Regions from separate parts of the Homo sapiens genome. Here all the other regions are linked to region 2. Evidence: promoter capture Hi-C in 16 types of primary human blood cells and fetal thymus (Javierre and others, 2016). All regions are on one chromosome and are shown on one strand. The core of a region is centred on a gene start or on the middle of the fragment in contact, and the rest is flanking DNA. Distances in the headings are between cores, read along the strand shown. Region 1 has its middle 4.3 kb from the start of PCDHB15. Region 2 holds the start of PCDHGB6 (protocadherin gamma subfamily B, 6). Region 3 overlaps DIAPH1 (diaphanous related formin 1).

The links. Contacts are between HindIII fragments. The CHiCAGO score rates a contact against its expected background, and 5 or more counts as called.
Region 1: a fragment that was not itself captured here is called in contact with the fragment with the promoter of PCDHGB6 in region 2 in 4 of 17 cell types (endothelial precursors, erythroblasts, total B cells and 1 more); the score reaches 8.6 in endothelial precursors.
Region 3: a fragment that was not itself captured here is called in contact with the fragment with the promoter of PCDHGB6 in region 2 in 1 of 17 cell types (M2 macrophages); the score reaches 5.4 in M2 macrophages.

Annotation. Positions count from the first base shown.
Region 1 is chr5:141,239,495-141,242,764 of GRCh38, forward strand. It overlaps PCDHB@ and the pseudogene PCDHB19P. Among named protein-coding and RNA genes, the nearest start is that of PCDHB15, 4.3 kb to the right of the region's middle. The HindIII fragment of the contact is 3,709 bases long and covers 1-3,107 here.
Region 2 is chr5:141,406,279-141,409,864 of GRCh38, forward strand. It overlaps PCDHGB6 (protocadherin gamma subfamily B, 6), which reads left to right and starts at 1,743. Exons shown (of 4, transcript NM_018926.3): 1 at 1,743-3,586. The coding sequence starts at 1,925. All of the region lies in intron 1 of PCDHGA1 (protocadherin gamma subfamily A, 1), which reads left to right. The region is part of intron 1 of PCDHGA2 (protocadherin gamma subfamily A, 2); the gene reads left to right. All of the region lies in intron 1 of PCDHGA3 (protocadherin gamma subfamily A, 3), which reads left to right. It also overlaps PCDHGB1, PCDHGA4, PCDHGB2, PCDHGA5, PCDHGB3 and PCDHGA6, and 6 more genes. RefSeq lists an enhancer at 2,152-2,201. The HindIII fragment of the contact is 5,535 bases long and covers 721-3,586 here.
Region 3 is chr5:141,582,526-141,586,340 of GRCh38, forward strand. DIAPH1 (diaphanous related formin 1) reads right to left here. Exons shown (of 28, transcript NM_005219.5): 4 at 1,599-1,700; 5 at 960-1,090; 6 at 681-767. Among named protein-coding and RNA genes, the nearest start is that of DIAPH1-AS1, 26 kb to the left of the region's middle. The HindIII fragment of the contact is 4,023 bases long and covers 1-3,815 here.

The sequences.
Region 1 (3,270 bases), core at 3-2,502, 170 kb before region 2:
CTTTATATCCATGATCTTGGCTGGCTCCCTCTTCAAGGTCTCAGTGACTCTCAGCTTCAACATGTGTGTATCTCAGTATTAACAATAGATGGTGATGCTCTTTATAAATTATTTTAGATACTGTAACAAGTCAACATAACAAGCTCACAGTCCTTAGGCAATATTCACAAATAAGTTATCCACAACTCTTAGGCTACCTATTGAGTTTGCATAATAAACCAGATTTAGCTAGTATATCACTTAAGTTTACACTCCTGAAATGTTAGAATGAATCTCTTCAACTACTGTGCTAGCACTCATTCGATCCATCAAAGAGAAGAGGCTTTCTTAACCGAAAATTGCGTTGCTGCAAGGATTGATTCCCAGAGCAGATTGCCTACCAACGCAACATAGGCATCCGGACCCTGAATGCTGTTGGTGTTGGAGAAATGGAGGCTGAAAAGGAGCACTTTCCTAGAATAAGGCAAGTGCTGCTTCTCTTTGTTATGCTGTCTCAGACTTGTGCGGAGTGGAATATACTGTGCGGAGTGGAATATACTGTAGCAGAAGAAACAGAAAGTGGTTCTTTTGTGGCCAATCTAACAAAGGACCCAGGGCTAGAAGTAAGAGTAATATACCAGTGGAGGCCTCGGGTCATTTTTAACAATAACAAAAAATATTTTCAGCTGAAACTTCAGACCGGAGACCTGCAAGTAAATGAGACATTGGACCGGGAAGAATTGTGTAGAATCACTGAGCCTTGTGTGCTGCAATTCCAAGTGTTACTGGAAGAACCTTTGGAGGTTTAAACTTTTGGTCAGTGACATAAACACAATTCCCCTGTATTCCCAGAAGCAGAAATTATTTTGAAATCATGGAAAATACTCCTCCAGGAACTGTGTTTCCTCTGAAAAATACACAAGATTTGGATGTGGCCATCAATAACATCCAAAACTACACCATCTACCCCTACTCCCATGTCCACGCTCTCACCCAAAATGGCAGTGAAGGCAGAAAATACCCAGAGCTGGTTCTGGACAAAGCCCTGGATCGGGAGGAGCAGGCTGAGATCAGGTTAACTCTCATGGCAGTAGATGGCGGGACTCCTCCCAGAACTGGGACTGCTCTGGTCCTCATTGAAATCTTGGACATCAATGACAATGCACCTGAGTTTGTGTAGCCACTCTATCAGGTGCAGATATCAGAAAACAGCCCCCTGGATTCCCTTGTTGCCACTGTTTCCGCTAGAGATTCAGACATGGGAATTAATGGTGAGATATTCTACTCATTTTTTATGGTGATGAAGAGATTTCTAAGACATTTGCACTTAATGAACGAAGGGGAGAAATTAAAATAATCAGAAAACTAGATTTTGAAAAAATTGTGTCATATCAGGTGGATATTAAAGCCTCTGATGGGGCAGGTCTTTCTGGAAAATGCACTGTCATAATACAGGTGGTAGATATCAACGATAACGCTCCGGAACTGACCATGGCTTCATTCACAAGCCCCATCCGCGAAAATTCTCCTGAGACCGTTGCAGCTCTTTTCAGCATTCAAGACCGCGATTCTGGGAAAAATGGAAGAATAGTTTGATCAATTCAAAATGATGTTCCGTTCATGCCGAAACCTTCCGTTGAGAATTTATACTGGCTGTTAACAGAAGGACCACTGGACAAAGAGATTAGAGCCGAGTACAACATCACCAACACAGCCACGGACTTGGGGACTCCTAGGCTGAAAACCGAGTACAACATAACGGTGCTGGTCTCCTACGTCAATGACAAAGCCCCCACCTTCACCTAAACCTCCTACACCCTGTTCGTCCGCGAGAACAACAGCCCCGCCCTGCATATTGGCAGCGTCAGCACCGCAGAGACTCGGGCACCAACATCCAGGTCACCTACTCGCTGCTGCCGCCCCGGAACCCGCACCTGCCCCTCGCCTCCCTGGTCTCCATCAACACAGACAACGGCCACCTGTTCGCCCTCAGGTCGCTGGACTACGAGGCCCTGCAGGAGTTCGAGTTCCGCGTGGGCGCTTCAGACCGCGGCTCCACGGCGCTGAGCAGCGAGGCGCTGGTGCGCGTGCTGGTGCTGGACGCCAACGACAGCTCACTCTTCGTGCTGTTCCCGCTGCAGAACGGCTCCGCGCCCTGCACCGAGCTGATGCCCCGGGCGGGCCGCCGAGCCGGGCTACCTGGTGACCAAGGTGGTGGCGGTGGACGGTGACTCGGGCCAGAACGCCTGGCTGTCGTAGCAGTTGCTCAAGGCCACGGAGCCAGGGCTGTTCGGCGTGTGGGCGCACAATGCACTGACAGGCTGCTGAGCGAGCGTGACACAGCCAAGCACAGGCTGATGGTCCTGGTCAAGGACAATGGCGAGCCTCCGCGCTCGGCCACCGCCACGCTGCACGTGCTCCTGGTGGATGGCTTCTCCCTGCCCTACTTGCCGTTCCCTGAAGCGGCCCCGGCCCAGGCCCAGGCCGACTTGCTCACCGTCTACCTGGTGGTGGCGTTGGCCTTGGTGTCGTCGTTCTTCCTCTTCTCGGTGCTCCTGTTCGTGGCGGTGCGGCTGTGCAGGAGGAGCAGGGAGGCCTCATTGGGTCGCTGCTCGGTGCCCGAGGACCCCTTTCCAGGCATCTGGTGGACGTGAGCGACACCAGGACCCTATCCCAGAGGTACAAGTATGAAGTGTTTCTGACGCGAGGCTCCGGGACAAATGAATTCAAATTCCTGAAGTCTGTTATCCCTAAGCATCCGGGCGCTGTGAATGATGGGAGGAAAAGTCCAACTTTGTAAATGGTTTTGGATTCAATTAAGAATCTGTAGATTTTTCAGAGCATTTAGGATAAAGGTTAGTCCTTTATCAATATATTAAGTCTCTGTTATGTTTTTTGTGCTATATGGATTTTCTAAGATTTTTGCTGATTTCATTTTCCTACTTAAGATTAGACATTTTCTTTGATTATTTGTTCATACTTGGTCTCCTTTTATCATGTCCATTTTGATGAATACAACTTTCAGGTTTACTCATTAATGAAAAGTAATATTTGTTCAATTTATCAACTTTTCAAAATCACAGGCTGTTGACTTGAAGACTCCAGCTCCATTCCGTTTCATTAAAGAAAGCTTTTCTAAACTTTTGATGCTTAGAAGACAGGAACGATGATATAGTGATTATTAGTACATATTCTATTGATTCTGTCTTATGCTTACCTGTCTTGAATTTTTAAATGGAGAAGCGTCTGCAAAAATTGCATCGTTTTATTTCACAATAGCTTGAAGTGGGA
Region 2 (3,586 bases), core at 493-2,992:
CAAAGCACTGGGTGAGGTGTGAACCACCTCACCCAGCAAATTCTTACTCCTACGATCATTTATTCAGGTCATACTATGTTTGTAAGGGTAAACTGATAAAAAGGTAAATGTATTCTTCTTAGAGAAACAGCTGAAAGCCCAGATTTATTGCTTCTATTCTTCCATTTCTATGACAGGAAAACACCTCTTTGAGGTTATATTTTTCAGATCACAAGTGTGTAAAGTCTGTTTGTGTTTACAGATATTTTCTGACGAAGATTCAAACTTCAGTTATCCACTTCCAAACCCTAGTAAACCAATTTTTTCCCTTTAATGGTGAAAGTTGTCACATCTTTTATTCTCATATCTTCAAAGGTCTTAATTTCCTAATGCTTTAATGTTAAATTATGGAGAATAGTAGGACATTCTTCTTTTCTATAGTATATGCTTGCTCAAGAGAAGTTTCTAAGACTGGACACTGTGAAATGACAAAACAAGGAATTAAAAATATTTCTCTCACTTATATATTATTTCTGGCTCAATTCTCCAACTTTTGAGTCTAGAAATGAACTTGCATATCAGATATAATTTAAGAAAATATTCTCAGGAACTGCTGGGAAGATTCTAAAACTATTTTACTGTTTTTAGCTATAAGGAAGAGAATAATGTATTATTTAATGTTATTTTAAACATAGTGTTGTTTCAAATAGTAAATAACATTTCACAAGACATTTGAAAATAAGCTTTGAAGTTGACTCAAAATTCTATGCTAAACATGTGATCCATAGATACACTGATGACTGCTGGCATTTCTGTGGAAATGAAGAATTGTTTTATTTGTTTGTAATTATTTGGGTTTCAGTTGCTTTATTTTTAAGAAAAAAAAGCTGAAGTGTCTGGGAATCCTTTATGACATACAGACATTTTAATTATTTCAAACACGTTTTCCCCCTTAAGTGGGTAGCAAAAAAAATAAAGCATACTTCAGGCTCATATTTTTAACCATGCAACAAGAAAATTGTTACAATTTCTGTTCTGAGGAGTAGCCTTCATACTTAGTATTTATAAATATTGAAATGTATGTTAATTTGGGGAAAACATAACAGATATCCATGAAGGCTTGTATGTCATGGTAGGTAGTTACTATTCGATACCACAAAAATGTCTCTTGCCCTTAAAACCAGAACACGAGGCTCACCAGACAGATGACTGAATGGAGTATGGAAAATCTTTATTTCTGTTTTTCTTAGGCTATGTAGGACTTAACTTATTGTGCATTGGTAACAGATTGTAGAACATAAGCTGAAAGATAAAATTCTTGACCTTAATGTCTCATCTTAAAAAGAAGCATTGGTTGACATTCTATATCTCGTATTACTTAAAAATAATGGGGGAGCGCAGTATATATTAAACAAAGATTGGCTTTGTGGTGATCATTGTTGAAGGTGGGGTGATGGCTATGTGAAGGTTCACTATATATACTCCCTACTGTTGTATAAGTTTGAAATTGTGCATAATAGATTTATTTAAAACACAAAGCATAGAAATATCTACTATAATATTATGGTGAGAGCAAAATTTGAGGGGGATGTACACCTGCATTTTCGAAGAATATATACATTTCGGAGACCGAATTCAAAATGAAAAACCGGGCTGCTGTCCCGCACGGAGCCTCTGGGCGCCGCTGTCGGCCAGTGCAGAGCAAGCGCTGACGCCGGGGATCCGTCAGCCTCTGGCCTGGGATTCCCTGCGCAGCCAACAACAGAAAGAAGAAAACCAGCTCCCACACAGAGCCTCCCGGCTGCGCAGACCTTTCCCAGCACAGCGGATTGCCAGCTCCGAGACCCGGGACTCCTCCTGTCCTGGGCCGAATGCTCTTTTAGCGCGGTAGAGTGCACTTTCTCCAACTGGAAAAGCGGGGACCCAGCGAGAACCCGAGCGAACGATGGGAGGGAGCTGCGCGCAGAGGCGCCGGGCCGGCCCGCGGCAGGTGCTATTTCCTTTGCTGCTGCCTTTGTTCTACCCCACCCTGAGTGAGCCGATCCGCTACTCGATTCCGGAGGAGCTGGCCAAGGGCTCGGTGGTGGGGAACCTCGCTAAGGATCTAGGGCTCAGTGTCCTGGATGTGTCGGCTCGCAAGCTGCGAGTGAGCGCGGAGAAGCTGCACTTCAGCGTAGACGCGGAGAGCGGGGACTTACTTGTGAAGAACCGAATAGACCGTGAGCAAATATGCAAAGAGAGAAGAAGATGTGAGTTGCAATTGGAAGCTGTGGTGGAAAATCCTTTAAATATTTTTCATGTCATTGTGGTGATTGAGGATGTTAATGACCACGCCCCTCAATTTGATAAAAAGGAAATACATTTAGAAATTTTCGAATCTGCATCCGCTGGTACACGACTATCGCTTGACCCTGCCACGGATCCTGATATAAACATAAACTCAATTAAAGATTATAAGATAAACTCTAATCCTTATTTTTCATTAATGGTTAGAGTTAATTCCGATGGTGGCAAATACCCAGAGTTATCTCTGGAGAAACTCCTAGACCGGGAAGAACAGAGATCTCATAGCTTGATATTGACTGCCTTGGACGGAGGGGACCCACCAAGAAGTGCCACCGCTCACATAGAAATTTCTGTCAAGGATACCAATGATAACCCCCCGGTTTTCAGCAGAGACGAATATAGAATTAGTCTTAGTGAAAATCTGCCCCCTGGGTCCCCTGTGTTGCAAGTGACAGCCACTGACCAGGATGAGGGGGTCAATGCTGAGATAAACTACTACTTCCGAAGCACTGCCCAGAGCACAAAACATATGTTCTCATTGGATGAGAAAACAGGTATGATTAAGAATAACCAGTCATTTGATTTTGAAGATGTAGAAAGGTACACCATGGAAGTGGAAGCGAAGGACGGAGGTGGTCTCTCTACCCAGTGTAAAGTAATCATAGAAATCCTTGATGAAAACGACAACAGCCCAGAAATAATCATCACTTCTCTCTCTGATCAGATTTTGGAGAATTCACCTCCAGGAATGGTTGTTGCCCTCTTCAAAACACGGGATCTGGATTTCGGAGGAAATGGAGAAGTCAGGTGTAATATAGAAACAGACATTCCATTCAAGATTTATTCTTCTTCCAATAACTACTACAAACTGGTGACAGATGGAGCCCTGGACCGAGAGCAGACACCAGAATACAATGTCACCATCGTAGCCACTGACAGGGGCAAGCCGCCTCTTTCTTCCAGTAGAAGCATCACCTTGTATGTCGCTGACATCAACGACAACGCCCCAGTTTTCGACCAGACGTCCTACGTGGTCCACGTGGCCGAGAACAACCCGCCAGGAGCCTCCATTGCGCAAGTGAGCGCCTCTGACCCGGATTTGGGGCTCAATGGCCACATCTCCTACTCTATAGTGGCGAGTGACCTAGAGCCCCTGGCGGTGTCGTCATACGTGTCAGTGAGCGCGCAGAGCGGGGTGGTGTTCGCGCAGCGCGCCTTTGATCACGAGCAGCTGCGCGCCTTCGCGCTCACGCTGCAGGCCCGCGACCACGGCTCGCCCACGCTCAGCGCCAACGTGAGCCTGCGCGTGTTGGTGGGAGAC
Region 3 (3,815 bases), core at 563-3,062, 180 kb after region 2:
AAATAGATAACTGAAGAGGGATCTTCACCATCAACAAATCTGGCTGATCCTCTTGTAATCCAAGAATTTAGTATTATATTAAAATCTTCTTTTTAACTCTCCCTAGGCTCCTAAATGCTAAATTCTATCAGGATAACATCCCATCTATTGCTGCTTGCCTTGCTACTAGAGGTTTCAAGTCTGAGAAGATATATGTAGGTCTTGGCCATGTTATTATTTTGTTTCAGAAAGATTCCAGGAAGTACTCTGCTTCAGGTTGGCTTCAAGGTAGCCTAAGAGAGTCCAAGGTATACCTAAAATTATTCCAACCTTGAAGACTGTCACAATACTAGTCCCAAGTATATTATAAGACTTCCAAATGGATATTACCCAGACCAGATTACACAGCAGCACTAAATCAGATTTTATTTCCAGATTGAAAAAGAACCAGTGCTGGGAGACTAATATTCTGTGGTATGTATTGAACTTATCCAACATGAAATTTAAGTTCCTCCTCCCTTTCCTGTATCTATAATCATCATTCATCCTCTAGCCACCACTATGATAAACCCCTTCTTGGCTAACAGTACATTCCCCTAGCCCACAACTTTACATTTAACTGCTACTTTCTCCTTCAGAGCAAATAGCCAAGTCCCCTGTGACTCTCCAACTTGAAGTTGCAAAGACTTGGAAGTCCTCACCCAGCAGTCTCTTCTTTCTCATCATGAAGTCGTTTAAGAATGTCCAATAAGGAGGCCAAGCCTTCAGCACCAAATGTTTGCACCCAACTGTAAGGAACAGAGAGAGGCAATGCAATATCAAACCAATAAATACTTATTTGCCAAACAAAGTTTATCCTGACAACTTACTACTCCCAATTCAGACTATTCTCATGCTTCCCTGGCTCCTTTGATCTTCAATCACCACCAGTGAAGTCCAACATTTGGCTCCTACTCCTGTTACCTCCTCAGAATCCTCACCTGACAGGGTTGTTGTTGAGAGACACACGAAGGGACTCCAGGCAGCTGAGCAGAGGCATATCCCGCAAGCCTGACCTCAACTCCTGAATATACATCATGGCAGACTTAGAGCTCTCCTTCTGGCTCATGCCCTAGACAGAAGGCATAGACAGAGATTAGTAATGGTGGACCCAGTCATAAATTAAGGACTAGTATTAGTCAATAGAGTTTATACTTTATTTTTATTTTTTATTTTTAGCAGAGACAAGGTCTTACTACGTTGCCCAGGCTGATTTCAAACTCCTGGGCTCAAGTGATCCTTCTGCCTCAGCCTCCCAAAGTGCTCAGATTACAGGAGTAAGCCACCATGTCAGGCCACGTTTATCAGGGCAGATACCCATCTCACATACCACCAACATAAATGAGACTTAGAACTGCCTATCCCATTCCCTATATTTACATACTTCATGAAAATTTAACCAGGCAAAATGTATGTAAGAACGGTAACTAAATAAGACAGTAAAAAGTGAACAGGCTTATATAATGGAATGAAACAGAATTGATGCAGACATAAAATGTTACATAAAATTGGCAAAAAAAAAACAGGTCCAAGACAAGGGCACAGTCTCCCATGTCATGGGTACCTGTCCCAGGACTCACAGCCTTGGAGGTGTACAAGTATTGGGACACCATCTCCCTCTTGATGATGATGTCCTTCTCCCTCAAAGGTTGCTGTTTCTCCTCATTCAGGTTCATATCCAGCTAGGAGAGGGAGAAAAAAGAGAAAAAACAAAATTGCCTCAAATTCTTTACAAATTTTTAGTGTTTAATATTAGTATGCTTAGTGAAGAGTTGAGCATGTAAAATGCTTAAGTAAATAAATCTTTTTGATCCCTAGAAATTTAAGCTATTACAGCTGATGAAAATTCCTCAAAGATAAGTATAGTTAACATTTTAGTATAAATCTCTATAGACATATACACACTTTTTTTCTCTAAGAAAAATGGACTCAATATAAATGAAAGATTTATTTTGTATTATTGAAAGAAAACCACACACAATGCTTTCTGCATCAAGGATGGACCTTAAAAATCTCTTCAGACTGAAGCACTGGATGAATGGCATAATCTAAACACAAGCAAAATCAACAGCAACAAACTCTGCACCAACTCTAGGGCCTACAAACCCATTACCCCTGGTTAACTCAGTCCCTGTACAAACTCCTTTCCCACGAAGAAAGAACTGGAAACTCTATGATAAAGCAGAGGCCCCCTGACAGACATAATCTGATGTATGTTTGGGGAAAGGCTCTGCTTGATCTTTCTACATATATAACAACCATGTGTCCAAGCCTAGTACCTTGGTGTGCACAAATTTAGCCCTAATAATTCCAGAATGTTATTTGAATTGAGAAAAATATGGATGGGGGGATGTATTCTGTTTCTTCTGCAAGCAGCAAAATTAATCTGAAGTTTCTGTGACTTAATTCCTGGTGGGTTTTTTTTTTTTGAGACGGAGTCTCACTCTGTCACCCAGGCTGGAGTGCAATGGCACAATCTTGGCTCACTGCAACCTCCACCTCCCAGATTCAAGTGATTCTCCTGCCTCAGCCTCCTGGCAGTAGCTGGGATTACAGGCGCCCGCCACCACACTCAGCTAATTTTTGTATTTTTAGTAGAGACGGGGTTTCACCATCTTGGCCAGGCTGGTCTTGAACTGCTGACCTCGTGATCCACCCACCTCGGCCTCCCAAAGTGCTGGGATTACAGGTGTGAGCCACCACTGCCAGCCAGATGCATTTTTCCTCTTGCAGATAAACTGAACACAGAAGTTACAAAATGGTGGCCCTCAAGCTAAGTCAAACCCAAAGATAAAATGTTTCACTTGGCTAGCTCAACATTTTAAATCTGGGGGACCTTACATAAAGATACAGATCTCTAGTAAAACAGCACCAAAGGATTCATCCATCGAATTTCATGTTGTGGGAAACTCTACAGGTCAAACAAACGGTTTTTTCAACAATTTTTTTTTAGTATCAATAGTAAGGATAAAAGAAAAAGAGGTGCAGTGGCTCATGCCCGTAATCCCAGCACTTTGGGAGGCTGAGGTGGGTGGATCACAAGGTCAGGGGTTCGAGACTAGCCTGGCCAACATGATGAAACCCTATCTCTACTCAAGCTACAAAAATTAGCCGGGCATGGTGGTGTCCACCTGTAATCCCAGCTACTCAGGAGGCTGAGGCAGGAGAACTGCTCGAACCCAGAAGACGGAGGTTGCAAGTCTTGCTCTGCTTGCGACAGAGCAATACTCCATCTCAAAAAAAAGAGGAAGGGAAACCTATAGTTTAAATGAAAATTGAGAATACCAGTACAGTGGACTATATTTGGAATTGTGATTTGAACAAACTGGTTTTTAAAAAAATGACCTAATTGGGGAAATTCAAATAGTGACTAGGATATTTTATGTTATTCAAGATTTATTATTTTTTTAAAATTACGGATTGCTGACTTCTTTTGAAAAATAGAAATATCTGGCACTACTAGGCAAGTATTCCCAACTGGAATGCAACCACCTACTAGAACTGAGTTGTGGCTGGCTTTTCTAACAAAAATGCCAAAAGCCTCTCTTCAATTTGCCACATTCCCCACTTCTTTTGCCATCTTCTATCTAGCCTGCTTACCTTATTTATACTACCTGCCTGGCCCAAGAGACATTTAAACTTGCAATCCAAGGCCAAGAGATTATCTTGACAGACCATACTCTTAAGACTCTTAATGCACTTGGAATATTAAGAGACAAACTGAAAGATTCAGTGAAAAATAACAACAGTAGTACCAGTTGAGTGCTTACTATGTACCAGGCCCTGTGCTAAGGATT